Linked DNA regions of Homo sapiens: all the other regions are linked to region 1. The links are contacts of gene promoters, found by promoter capture Hi-C in blood cells and fetal thymus (Javierre and others, 2016). All regions are on one chromosome and are shown on one strand. Each heading gives the region's core, a stretch centred on a gene start or on the middle of the fragment in contact. The rest is flanking DNA. Distances are from core to core; before and after follow the strand shown.

The links. Contacts are between HindIII fragments. The CHiCAGO score rates a contact against its expected background, and 5 or more counts as called.
Region 2: a contact is called between the fragment with the promoter of SNRNP27 here and a fragment that was not itself captured in region 1, in 2 of 17 cell types (naive CD8 T cells and naive CD4 T cells). The highest score is 8.1, in naive CD8 T cells.
Region 3: a contact is called between the fragment with the promoter of SNRPG here and a fragment that was not itself captured in region 1, in 3 of 17 cell types (fetal thymus, activated CD4 T cells and naive B cells). The highest score is 8.3, in fetal thymus.

The regions. Positions count from the first base shown.
Region 1 is chr2:70,141,389-70,145,825 of GRCh38, forward strand. No RefSeq gene overlaps it. Among named protein-coding and RNA genes, the nearest start is that of LINC01816, 18 kb to the left of the region's middle. RefSeq lists enhancers at 1-130, 1,351-1,710, 1,721-1,860 and silencers at 1-63, 551-1,260, 2,191-2,240. The HindIII fragment of the contact is 804 bases long and covers 1,617-2,420 here.
Region 2 is chr2:69,892,064-69,896,500 of GRCh38, forward strand. It overlaps SNRNP27 (small nuclear ribonucleoprotein U4/U6.U5 subunit 27), which reads left to right and starts at 1,893. Exons shown (of 6, transcript NM_006857.3): 1 at 1,893-1,955; 2 at 3,031-3,151; 3 at 4,373-4,437. The coding sequence starts at 1,922. RefSeq lists enhancers at 1,518-2,453, 2,196-2,255, 2,454-3,388. The HindIII fragment of the contact is 14,817 bases long and covers 1-4,149 here.
Region 3 is chr2:70,291,247-70,295,683 of GRCh38, forward strand. SNRPG (small nuclear ribonucleoprotein polypeptide G) reads right to left here and starts at 2,494. Exons shown (of 4, transcript NM_003096.4): 1 at 2,372-2,494. The coding sequence starts at 2,403. It overlaps LOC124906023 (a long non-coding RNA gene), which reads left to right and starts at 2,656. Exons shown (of 2, transcript XR_007086880.1): 1 at 2,656-2,686; 2 at 3,812-4,437. RefSeq lists enhancers at 1,252-2,159, 2,176-2,655. The HindIII fragment of the contact is 8,673 bases long and covers 1,843-4,437 here.

The DNA.
Region 1 (4,437 bases), core at 769-3,268:
GTGGGAATCAAATGAGATCACTCATGTGAAAAGCCTAGCACAACCCCTGACACATGACACAAGCACTTCAGGACATATTCATGTTCCTCCTTCCAGGACAGGGCCTTACACTGTCTACTCTGGTAAACCAGCCTCATATAAGCTCCTGGAGGCTGGCGTGTCCCCAGGGGTCAGGCCATCCCAGAAACGATGACTTGACCATAGTCACGTCATGAGGTGAGAGATTCCGGGAAGGGGCAGCAAGAGGAGAAAGAAGCGAAGGGCGCCCCAAGGTAATGTGTGCCCTACACAGGGCTCCTAGCCATAAGCACTTATGCAAGTGCGGGGCACAGAGAAAATTCTGGTAACACTCCTCCCCTCAATTCTGATCAGGTCCCAGGCTCAACTAATCAGTTCAGGGATGGGCCCTTTGCCACCTTTTTCCTAACCAAAGCCACTCTCAAGGGGAAACTTCTATTAACGGCCAGTAAGCAAGACACACAACGCTTTTTGTTTGAAGGACTACCCAGGCGTTAGTGCCCTTCCAGACCGGCTCTAGTGACTGGCGGGGAAGAAGGGGAAAAAGAATTAGTGTATCTGGACACAACACCCAGCATGTGCTAGGCAGAAACTAAGTGTGCGAAGCGGATCCCGATGTACAAAGGGGAAAACAGCGGCTGGGAAAGCCTGAGCCACGGGCTCCAGGCGGCCAGTCGCGGTCCTCCCGGCGCGTGCCCTCCTCCTCCCCGACCTGGCCGGAGCTGACCGGGGCGGGTGTAGGCCCGGGGGCGGGAGGGCTACTGGATCCCAGGTGGGGCGGGTGTAGGCCCGGGGACGGGAGGGCGACGGGATCCCAGGTAGGGCGGGGCCTGGCTCCGGGCGCGACGGCTCTTTGCTCGCAGCGCCGCGCCGTCTCGAGGTCGGGGTGCGGCCCGACCCCACGTGCCCCAAATCCCCCCCGCTGCCCTGTAAAACCTGCGGGCCCCGGTCCAGGCGTGGTCCCGCTCGCACGAGGGAGCGGTCGCCCAGGGTGCCGGGAAGTCGGGGACCGGCCAGCCGCCGACCGGCCGCACCCCTCCCCGCCGAGCTCGCGCGCCCGCCTCGTCAGCACCTTTCCCGCAGCGCAGCCCCACAGTGGTCACGAGGCGGGCGCGGCCCGGTCAGCCCTGGCTAGACTAGGCATCGGCACCACCCACCTCGCCCCTCCCCGTCCCGCTGGTTTCCCCTCCCCCTCCTTCCCCTCCCCCTCTCTGTTCTCCTTCCCCTCCCGATCCCCGGGCGGGCCGCAGCGCGCCACGTACCTGGCCCCGCCCCTGCGAGCCACGCAGGGAACCCCGGTGACGTCACCACCCTCCGGCGCTCTCATTCCCGCGCTCTCCAGAAAAGACGCGAAGGTGGTGACGTGTCCCGTGCGCCAGGGCGGCTGCGCAGGAGGCATTGGCAACTGAGCGTCCTGCGGCGCCGCCTGGTGGAAGCAAAGCAGCCGAGCCCCCCGGAAGCGGCGGCGCGGGCGAGTGGAGAACGTGACTTACGTCATCTGGCGGAGGCGTGGGGGCGGCTGCCGCGTGACCAGCCCCAGCCAGGCGCGGTCGGCGCGTTTCTCTTTCTCTTCTCCTACTCTCAGCGGAGCGGGTGGAAGCTTGATTTCATGCCGTTTATTTTACTTTGACTGTTTTCAAACCTATCAAGTTAATATTGTTAATTATAGAAAACGTGGGGGGAAAAGGGAAAAGATAGGTAGAAAATGATTCTTAGCATCCCCAAGCATCTTTAACCTTTCATTATGTTTACTTCCAGCCTTTTTCATGAAACAAAATTGTGGTCTGACTGTATACAGTGGTATTAACTACAAAGATTCCTAAGAAGGGACAAAAAGCACCTTTTAGCTTCAAGGCTAATTTAGAGGAACAGGTAGAAGAGGAAAAGTTCAAACAATGGACAAAATGAGTGATTCGTCCACGGTATCTAATCACTGTTCACATCATCCGGAGGAAACGGGCTCAGAGTCATGCCCAAGGCCGCGCATAAAAGAGTGGCAGACTGGGGTTTCAAACCCAGGCTCTAAACTGTGAACCTGCAAGATGGTGGGAGTGGGGAAGACAGTGAAAAGTTGTGCAGGGAATTCACAGAACTACAGAACCCACTTTGTACTTCTGGAACTGCTGAGTGGGGAACTAGTTCTAAGGAACAAGGTTAGTGCCCCAGCAGTTGGAGCAGTTTGGTGAGAGAGTGGCACAAAGCTGACACTGGTACATGGCCCTGGCCACTAGTTGTTAAGTTCCACCCATCTCCAGCACTGCCCTCCCCATGAGTGACAGTGAAAGGTGGGAGGGACGTTACAGGACTGTATCAGGCATTAGACCTGCTACTCCAAGTGCAGTCTGGTGCAGTCTGCAGGCCAGCAGCCTCCCTGCTGTCCAGCACTTTCCGCATCACTTGGAAGCTTGATGGAAATGCAGAATCTTGGACCACACTTTAAAGCTTCTGAATCGGGCGGCATGCGATGCCTCATGCTTGTAATCCCAGCACTTTGGGAGGCCAAGGTGGGTGGATCACCTGAGGTCAGGAGTTTTGAGACCACCCTGGCCAACATGTTGGCCCCGTCTCTACTAAACCCCATCTCTACTAAAAGTACAAAAATTAGCCGGGCATGGTGGCGGGCGCCTGTAATCCCAGCTACTTGGGAGGCTGAGACAGGAGGATCGCTTGAACCCGGGAGGCAGAGGTTGCATTGAGCCAAAACTGTTCCGTTGCACTCCAGCCTGGGCAACCAAGATGTCCCTTCTTAGGAACCTTTGTAGTTAATACCACTGTATACAGTCAGACCACAATTTTGTTTCATGAAAAAGGCTGGAAGTAAACATAATGAAAGGTTAAAGATGCTTGGGGGTGCTAAGAATCATTTTCTACCTATCTTTTCCCTTTTCCCCCCACGTTTTTGAAACTCTGTCTCAAAAAATTTAAAAAATAAAGCTTCTACATCAAAATACGCATTTTAACTAGGTCCCTGGGTGATTCCTGTGCACATTGAAGTTTGAGAAGTGCTGTTGTAAATAAAGTAAGTCGTCCTGCTCGCTTGGTACAGCAGGTGGGATGGTAGATGCGAAGGGCGCTTGCAGAACTGGATGATGGGAAGACAGGCAGGCAGGGAGCAAGGTCGGTAAGGAGGATTAAAAAAAAATCAAGGCTGGGCGCGGTGGCTTACGCCTGCAATCGCTGCGCTTTGGGAGGCCAAAGCAGGCGGATCACCTGAGGTCGGGACTTCGAGACCAGGCTGACCAACAGGGAGAAACCCCGTCTCTACTAAAAATACACAATTAGCCGGGCATGGGTGGCGCATGCCTGTAATCCCAGCTACTGGTGAGGCCGAGGCAGGAGAACTGCTTGAACCCGGCAGGTGGAGGTTATGGTGAGCCGAGATCATGCCATTGCACTCCAGTCTGGGCAACAAGAGCGAAACTGCGTCTCAAAAAAAAAAAAAAATTCCTACGAGTGTCAGAAAATATGATCTGCCACAAAGGAAAACCAGGAAATCAGAATCTGGGAGCTAAAGGAAGAAGAAATAGGTGAAGCAGGTAAGCAGATCTCTTGAGAAAATTCACTAATAGACAAAGGGCTGCCCCCCTGTGGGTGATTTTTTTGTGTTGTCTGTGACTTACAGGGTCTAGTTATTATAATTCACAGAGCTTAGGGAGAGCAGCCCCTGCCCATCCCCTCCAGCAGGGTATAGTGAGATTTCTCTGGGTTCTTCTAGCTGAGGGCATATTCTGGGCGTTTTTGGACAGGGGAGAACCAGGGATAGGAGGAGCTGGCTGAGGTTCTGACAGAACAGTGTCTGTTGGATGAGGGCTGGAGTATGTATGGTGTGCGCTTGTGTATGCACATGTGGGCTGGAGGGAAGGGCAGGGCATTGGCACCAACCCAGGACAGCAGTCACTGAAAGATGGGGTGAATTTAGGTGATTGGGAATTAGTGGGCCCACAAAGCCACAGGGCTGATGACATCTGGTACCTTGAAAGTCAGGTGGCAGGCCTACAGATCTCTTGGGTGGATAGTTCTTGGAGTTAGAGTTTGGAGGTCCCCAAGTAGCTTCTAAATATTAGCAATCTGGCTGGGCGCCGTGACTCACGCCTGTAATCCCAGCACACTTTGGGAGGTCGAGGCAGGTGGATCACCTGAGGTCAGGAGTTCAAGACCAGCCTGGCCAACACGGTGAAACCCCATCTCTACTAAAAATACAAAAATTAGCTGGGTGTGGTGGCGCATGCCTGTAATCCCAACTACTCGGGAGGCTGGGGCAGAAGAATTGCTTGAATCCGGGAGGCGGAGGTTGTAGTGAGCCGAGATTGCGCCACTGCACTCCAGCCTAGGTGACAGAGCGGGACTCCATCTCAAAAAAGAAAAAAATTTGTATATATATATGCAATCTGTTTTATATATATATATAAGCAATCTGTT
Region 2 (4,437 bases), core at 643-3,142, 250 kb before region 1:
CACCTGAGGCCACCATGTTCTTCCTCTCTTACACATCTAGTACATACCCCCTTAGGCTTCCCATAAATCCTGTCTTTCCTGTGGATAATTTCTTCAATCATTAGTGGTGTGCTTCTTCTTTCTTTTTTTTTTTTTTTGTTTGAGACGGAGTCCCACTCTGTCGCCCAGGCTGGAGTGCAGTGGCGCAGTCTCAGCTCACTGCAACCTCAACCTCCCAGGTTCAAGCAATTCTCCTGCCTCAGCCTCCCAAGTAGCTGGGATTACAAGCATGCGTCACCACGCCTGGCTATCATTAGTGGTGTGTTTCTCCAATGATGTCCCTAAATCTTCTTCCCTGGGGTCTGCACCTCCCTTGAACCTCCCCATTCTACACCTAGTGCATGCTTTGCCAGGGTAATTCCAAAGGCATCTGGGGGTTGGGGCTGTTGGTAGAAATCCTAGATGTCATGGCTGGATCTTTCCTGGAAGTTTGGGTTGGGACAGGTATTAAACAGGCCACTCTGAATGTATAAATCTAATTAAAAATTTATGTGATTGGTGGGCATTTTTTCCAACCTAATAAAGTCCCTTTCCATCCCCCAGCTCTTTGTATTTTAAAAGCCAGGTCACTAGACTTGATAATTCTAGAGAGAGCTGACTGAAAAGAGTTGGTTTGATTAGAAACAGAGGTTCAACACTTTTACACTGTTGGTGGGAATGTAAATTAGCTCAACCATTGTGGAAGACAATGTGGTGTTTCCTCAAAGACCTAAAACCAGAAATACCATTTGACCCAGCAATCCCATTACTGGGTATATACCCAAAGGAATATAAATAATTTTATTACGAAGATACTTGCACGCATATGTTCACTGCAGTACTATTCACAATAGCGAAGACATAGAATCAACCCAAATGCCCATCAATGATAGACTGGATTAAAAAAATGTGGTACGTATACACCATGGAATACTACACAGCCATAAAAAGGAACGAGATAATGTCCTTTGCAGGGACATGGATGGAACTAGAAGCCATTATCTTCAGCAAACTAACACAGAAACAGAAAACCAAACATTGCATGTTCTCACTTATAAGTAGGAGCTGAACAATGAGAACACATGGGCACAGGGAGAGGAACAACACACACTGGGGCCTGTAGGGGGAGGAGCTGGGGAGAGGGAGAGCATTGGGAAGAATAGCTTAATAGATGCAAGGCTTAATGGGTTGATAGGTGTAGCGAACCACCATGGCACACATTTACCTATGTAACAAAACTGCACATCCTGCAAATGTACCCTGGAACAAAATAAAATAAAATAAGAAATAGAGGTTTGAGTCTTTCCTGGTAAGCATATTTATGCTCTACCACAGACGGTTCAGCCTTGGGGCAAGACAGTCTTTCTCCTAATTTTTGTAGTTTTGAACATTCTAAAGTTTTTGTTGTTGTTGTTGTTGTTTTCCCTGAGGACAGAGGCAACTTTGGGGAAGTACTTTGTCGGGTAGGATGGAATCTGGGGCCTTTAGTTTTCCTTCCAAGAGCCCATAGGAGGTTTTGGGTGCCTTCTCAATGCTGGCATGAGAAAATATAAAGCAGATGGACAGTGAACTTTGGTATATTCACTCCTTATGAATGTTATGTGGAAAAGTGGAAGAACATAAGCTGTTTGTCTATGCTATGTTTACAATTGGTTTGCTCTATTTTGTGCATGTGGACAAAAATGGGGGAAAAATGAAAGCTGTGTTAGGATAATGGGTATACGGCTGAATTTTCCAGGAATTTCTATAATAACACCAAATCGCATGTTTTAATGCCCACCGTGAACAAAGAAGACCGGAACCCTCGCAACTCGTTTTGACGTTTTCTGGTCGGCGGTAAAAGCTCGGTTCCCGGCCCTCCCGGAAGTTGTTGCACAGTTGTTTCCGGGAAGCGGGACTCCAAATGGGTCGCAGTCGCAGCCGCTCTCCACGGAGGGGTGAGTCCTGTAGCAATTCGGAGGATATGGGGCTCTGTTGGAGGCCTGTCCCTTTTGTTTTATTTTGTTTTGTTTTTGGTAGCCGCGTAGCAGAGAGGCGGGCCCTTTTCCCAGGCGGAGAGCGAGGGGTGGATAAAGGAACGTAGACCTGGGCCCTGCCCTCTTCAGCCCGCCCTCTCCGGTTTGAAGGCAGTTGTTTGTCTCTGAATTAGTTTCATTAAGTCTTTGTCACCTTCATACAATAACTTTTATTACACTGTGGCCGGTGGGTTTAGAATTAGACCTCAGTTCCTTTGCTGAATTTCTGGGCGACGGTGGGCAAGTCACTACTCAGCCTTTCTGAATCGAATTCCCAGAATGAGTCATTGAGGGTAGTATTGCCAACTTTTAAAAACTGATGTGAGAATTAATGTCACATCCCATAACATACAGTATGTGATTCTGCCTGGTTCTTAAATACTTAATAAATGTTAGATTCCTGCCCAGGTCATTACAGGGAAATCGATATTAAGAATTTTGAGTCCTGGGAGCTCACTTCGTAATGTTTTCTGGCTACCAGCCCCATAAATGAGGCAGCGCGACGTAAAGAACCCTGGACTTCCATTAGGAGATCTAACTTAGACCCTCGGTTCTGCCCCTGATTCGTTTTTTTTTTAAATCAATTTATTTATTTTTAATGAGACAGAGTCTCGCTCTGTCGCCCGCCCAGGCTGGAGTGCAGTGGCCGATCTCAGCTCACTGCAACCTCCACCTCCTGGGTTCAAGCGATTCTCATGCCTCAGCCTTCCGAGTAGCTGGGATTACCCGTCCGTGCCACCACGCCTGGCTAATTTTTGTATTTTTATTAGAGACGGGGTTTCGCCGCGTTGGCCAGGCTGGTCTCGAACTCCTGACCTTGTGATCCGCCCGCCAGCCTCACAAAGTGCTGGGATTACAGGCGTGAGCCACCGCTCCCAGCCTCTTTTTACCTTTTTAATGTGACTAGTAATGGTTTGCATTATTTTTCTACTGGACGGCGCAGCTCTAGATATTTGAGGTAATTATCAGTTCTGCAATTTGTGTGCGTTTGCATTAGAACGTAGGCGTTCCCGGTCCACATCCCGGGAGAGAGAACGCAGGCGCCGAGAAAGGTCCAGGTCTCGGGAGAGAGATCGGAGAAGGAGCCGCTCGCGATCCCCGCACCGAAGACGCTCCCGGTAAGGGCAGAAAATAAGCCAAGAGTTTTATTTACCGAAAGTCCCTAAGAAACTGGTCGCAGCTCTTAACTTTGTTTTCATCGCTTATAAGGGGATTTACGGTTTCCTGAAATGGAGGAAACTTAATCCAACCTTATTCTAAAGCTAACATTCACCTTGGTTAAATGGTGCTAATAGTACTCTACATCACAAAGTTGTCTTGAAAGAGTAAGTAAGAAATAATGCATGCAAACCCCAGAGCATGGTGCTTGGCAAGAAAAAGAAATAAGTATTTTATATTTTTGTTTCTTTCTTCCGTTCCTTTCCTTTCCTTTTCTTTTCCTTTTCCTTTCTTTTCCTCTTTTTTGAGACGGAGTCTCGCTCTGTCACCCAGGCTGGAGTGCAGCGGCGCAATCTGCTCACTGCAACCTCCGCCTCCCCTGCAATCTCTGCCTCCCCTGGTTCAAGCAATTCTGCTGCTGAGCCTCCCAAGTAGCTGGGACTACAGGCACATGCCACCACACCCAGCTAATTTTTTTTGTATTTTTAGTAGAGACGGGGTTTCAACGTGTTAGCCAGGATGGTCTTGATCTCCTGACCTCGTGATCCACCCACCTCGGCCTCCCAAAGTGCTGGGATTACAGGCGTGAGCCACTGCACCCGGCCTGTTGTTTCTTTTTTATTAACTTTTTGGTGATAATGATTTATTCAAGTATGTAATCAAGAATGGATGATCTTGGAAGAACATTAGAAATGGGCTCTGAGTCTTTTTTTTGGTTTGTTTTTTTTTTTTTTGAGAGAGAGGGTCTCCCTGTGTTGCCCAGGCTGGTCTTGAATTCCTAGGCTCAAGCAATCCTCCTGCCTCTGCTTTCCAAAGTGCTGGAATTAGTAGCGTGAGCCACCAAGCCCCACCTGGCTCTGAGTCTTAATAACCATCAATTGCTGTTTAAGTCAGCTTTTTTGTATATTTGTGTGTGGTTGTTAGAAACTTTTAATTTACATTTTTCTGCCTTCCAGAAAGCTTTCTAGCCCTAGTTGTACTGAATGCAACTGATGATTAAGCAGTAAACTACATTAAAAAATTTTTTTGTTAACAATCAAGGCCTTGGCAGAACCTTTTTCCTCACTTTGCTATACGGAATGACTCGTGGTTCTGTGGAGCTCACCTCATGTATATCTGTGCTGATTGATACAAAGTTGATATGTCTGTCTGTTTCTAACATCTTTGCTTATAAATATTAGATCTCCAAGACGACATAGATCCACATCTCCTTCCCCTTCTCGACTGAAAGAAAGAAGAGATGAGG
Region 3 (4,437 bases), core at 1,244-3,743, 150 kb after region 1:
ACAAATAGTTCAGTGTGACTGGAGAACGGAATACCTGAGTATTAGCAGCTAGAAGGTTTGGTGCTTGAATGCTGGGTTAAGTACAGACTCGATTTTGCATACTGTGATAAATTATTAAAGCAGTCACTGGCAAGACTACCGTGGCAGCAAATTTTAAGAAGTGGAAGGAAGAATTCAGTTAAGCCAGTGTATCTCAACTTCTATACTACTGACATTTGGGACCAGTTAATTTTGTATTGTTGGGGGCAGTCGAATAAGCAGTAGGATGTTTAGCAGCACCCTGGTGTCTACTCACTAGAAGCCGGTAGCACCAGATTCCCTACTCCCCATTTAAGAACACCTGAGTTATGCTACACCAGAAGGAGGGCATAATGGTGTAAAAGAAGATGCTATCTGTGAGAAAGCAGAGGAAGAAAAAATTTTTAAGTCATTTTGGCGGCAGATCTGACCGGATTTCACAATTCATGAAACCTACGAGGAAGAGAAAGGTATTAAAACTAGCTTCCTTCTCTGAAATTTTCAAAAACTATGTTATGAATCAGAAAGAAAATCTTAGATTACAAGTAGAGAATGGTCTTTTTGTTAAAAAAAAAAAAATCACCATTTCACCAGTCCCTGATGAATCCAGAGGATACTTACATCACCAAAAATAACTTTCAGATAAAAAGAGTAATTTTCACAATAATTTCTGAGTAACTTCTATTTTTTTTTTTTTTTTTGAGACGGAGTCTCGCTCTGTTGCCCAGGCTGGAGTGCAGTGGCGCGATCTCGGCTCACTGCAAGCTCCGCCTCCCGGGTTCACGCCATTCTCCTGCCTCAGCCTCCCGAGTAGCTGGGACTACAAGCGCCCGCCACCAAGCCCACGTAATTTTTTGTATTTTTATAGACACGGGGTTTCACCGTTTTAGCCATGATGATCTCCATCTCCTGACCTCGTGATCCGCCCGCCTCGGCCTCCCAAAGTGCTGGGATTACAGGCGTGAGCCACCGCGTTGGGCTTATGTTTTAATAATTAATTCCTTAACAGACCTAACTAAAATATACATAGAAGTAGTTTTCATACAAAAGATGGCTTTGATACAAATGGACCTTTAAATGCAAAAATATTATTATTTTTTGAAACAGAGTTTCGGTCTTGTTACCCAGGCTGGAGGGCAATGGCGCGATCTTGACTCACTGCAACCTCCGCTTCCCGGGTTCAAGCGATTCTCCTGCCTCAACCTCCGGAATAGCTGAGACTACAGGCGCACACCACCTGCCTGGCTAATTTTTTGTATTTTTAGTAGAGACGGGGGTTTCACCATGTTGGCCAGGCTGGTCTCGAACTCCTGACCTCAGGTGATCCTCCCGCCTCAGCCTCCCAAAGTGCTGGGATTACAGGCGTGAGCCACTGTGCCCGGCCGCAAAATTATTAAATAGGAACTTTACCTTTTGTCTGACTTCCATGGGCCTGGTAATAAATGAACTAACTATACACAAAGCCAACCACATGCTACGCCAGAAAAAACTGATCCCTGTAAAAATTTTGCATCCTTTGTGCAATCCAACTAATACATGTAGAATTCCAGCATCAGGAAGTATAAGCAAAACAGAAACGTAGTCAGGAAACACATAACCTGTTAAGTCCACTCAAAAAGTATTTGAGGAATTCAAAGCTTTACGTTGAGTCCTACCTAAAGTAAGGCTCTCCTACTTAAAGTTGTTTGACTTTACTGGGTGTGTAGAAAAAACTTCAAAAAATTAGCCTTCTCTGACTAGAAAAAATTAATGTTCTTAAAAAAAAAGAAAAATGAATGTTCTTATATAGTTTCAACATCAGAGCAAGATAACACATGACATTCAAGCTTAACGTAAAAGAAGGCAAGAAAAAGGAATGAGGTTTCTAAGTAAAAGCTCAAACACCTACAAACACATTTGCTAAGACTAAAGTGGCTTTCGGATTCTGATGCCTCACGTAGTTTTAAAAACACTTCCTTCCCTTCCAGCCCCTCCTTAGTTCCTTCAGAGAATTTCCCCCTCTAGCCGTCTATCTAGAACATGATACTATTCGAGATGTTCAACAAAAGGTAGCACTGGAGATCTTCAAGGAACGAGGGACAGCGCCGGGTGACCAGGGGCCAGACCGCGGGACCTGGAGACTAGTCGGCCGGAAGGAGGTGCCGTGGCTGCCGGCTGTAACCACACCGACGCGCGAGCTCTGCGCGGGCTTCACGTCTCATGCGCGGGAGCCTGGCCGGGATCCCGGCGACCTCGGACCGGAAGAAGAAATGAAGTGAAGCGGCTCAAGACATTCGGCTAACGGAGAGGGAACCAAGGGACTCGCAGGACGCAAATAACTGACCACTTCGGTTTGGCTCTCACACATACTTACTTTTTCAACTCGGGAGGGTGAGCTTTGCTCATGGTGTATACTCCGCGGGCTCACAGATGCCTTGGAACGCAACGCACGGCTTTCCTCACGCTCCCGCTGTAGGCCCGGCGTCTTGCGTCTGGCGTCATCGACCTCGTTAGCCAATGGATTGTTGGCAGTTTTTACATTTCACCTCGCGATATCTCAGCGCCTCGGTCATCGTTGAGCTTCCGGTTATGTCCTCAGCGATTGGCCAGGACGGAGGGGTGCGTCCTCTAGGCACCTTTCTGAATTCCGTTTTCCTTGTACAAAATTGAGATAACGGGTATTCCACCGGTGGGTATCCCTGCTCTTTTTCTTTTCTTTTTGAGACGGAGTCTAGCTCTGTCGCCCAGGCTGGAGTGCAGTGGCGCGATCTCGGCTCACTGCAAGCTCCGCCTCCCGGCCTCACGCCATTCTCCTGCCTCAGCCACCCGAATAGCTGGGACTACAGGCGCCCGCCACCATGCCCGGCTAATTTTGTGTATTTTTTAGTAGAGACGGGGTTTCGCCGTGTTAGCCAGGATGGTCTCGATCTCCTGACCTCGTTATCCGCCCGCCTCGGCCTCCCAAAGTGCTAGGATTACAGGCGTGAGCTACCGCGCCCAGCCGGTTATCCCTGCTCTTGTCTATGGAACAGCCAAAATAAATAAAAATAAATAAATAAATAAAAAAAGCCGGGCGCCGTAAATCCCAGAACTTTGGATCTCTTGAGCCCAGGAGTTCGAGACCAGCCTGTGCAACATAGCGAGACCCCTTCTCTATTTAAAAAATAAAATTGAGATATTGAGATAACGGTCCCGTCTCTAGCTCCTGGGCAAACCCGGCCAATCCCGCATGTCTGTGGATCGTATCGCTTATTTTCTTCATATATACCAATATACCAAATGATAATGATCCCTGGAGGAATGGGCCTCTCTCTATATATGTATATTTTTTTGAGACGGAGTCTTGCTCTGTCGCCCAGGCTGGAGTGCAGTGGCGCGATCTCGGCTCACTGCAAGCTCTGCCTCCCGGGTTCACGCCATTCTCCTGCCTCAGCCTCCCGAGTAGCTGGGACAACAGGTGCCCGCCACCACGCCGGGCTGATTTTTTGTATTTTTAGTAGACACCGTATTTCACTGTGTTAGCCAGGATGGTCTTGATCTCCTGACCTCGTGATCCGCTGGCCTCGGCCTCCCAAAGTGCTGGGATTACAGGCGTGAGCCCCCGCTCCCGGCTGGGCCTCTATATTTTTTTGGCAGGTAACCCTACAGCATACTGTCAGACCAAGTAGGGTTCCCGTAACATGTAAATTAGCAGCCTCTGAACCATTGTAGAGTAAGGTGACTGGGTCTGTCTCCAAGAATTTGAATCTATTTCTGACTGAGGGGTCTTGCAAAAAAAATTTTTTTTGAGATGAGTTCTTGCTCTGTCGCCTAGGCTGGGGAGCATGGTGTGATCATGGCTCACTGCAACCTCGAACTCCTGGCCTCAAGCAATCCTTCCACCTCAGCCTCCTGAGTTGTTGAGACTACAGGCGCACGCCACTGCACCCAGCTAATTTTTTTTTGTAGAGACGAGGTCTTGCTTTGTTGCCCAGGCTGTTCTCAAATTCCTGGCCTCAAGAGATCTGCCTGCCTCCGGCTCCCAAAGTGCTGAGATTACAGGGGTTAGCCAGCATGCCTGGGAATTCTGAAATTTTTCAAACACTACCTCCAGAACTCACTGATGTGCTATTGCCCCTGTATATAAAATGTGAAGTGCAGCACACAAACATTTTCTAATATAAGGTGTTCTTTTTTCATGTCAAGATGTGTAAAAAGTGGTCTCGGACTTGTTCCCAGTTGTTACCCCAAAATTATAGAAGACTAAACCAAAATAGAATACCTTGTGTTTAAATAGGGGATAGTTCTCAAAAATTCAGTTAATTCCTGATATTCTGGAATGGCTCTATATAAATATCAATGATAGTAAAGACTTAAACTCATCACATATTTTGCACTCTCTTAGTACTCAAAATCCTAGACACTGAATTTTTTCTAGCAGGGTCATAGCTTTGTACCTTT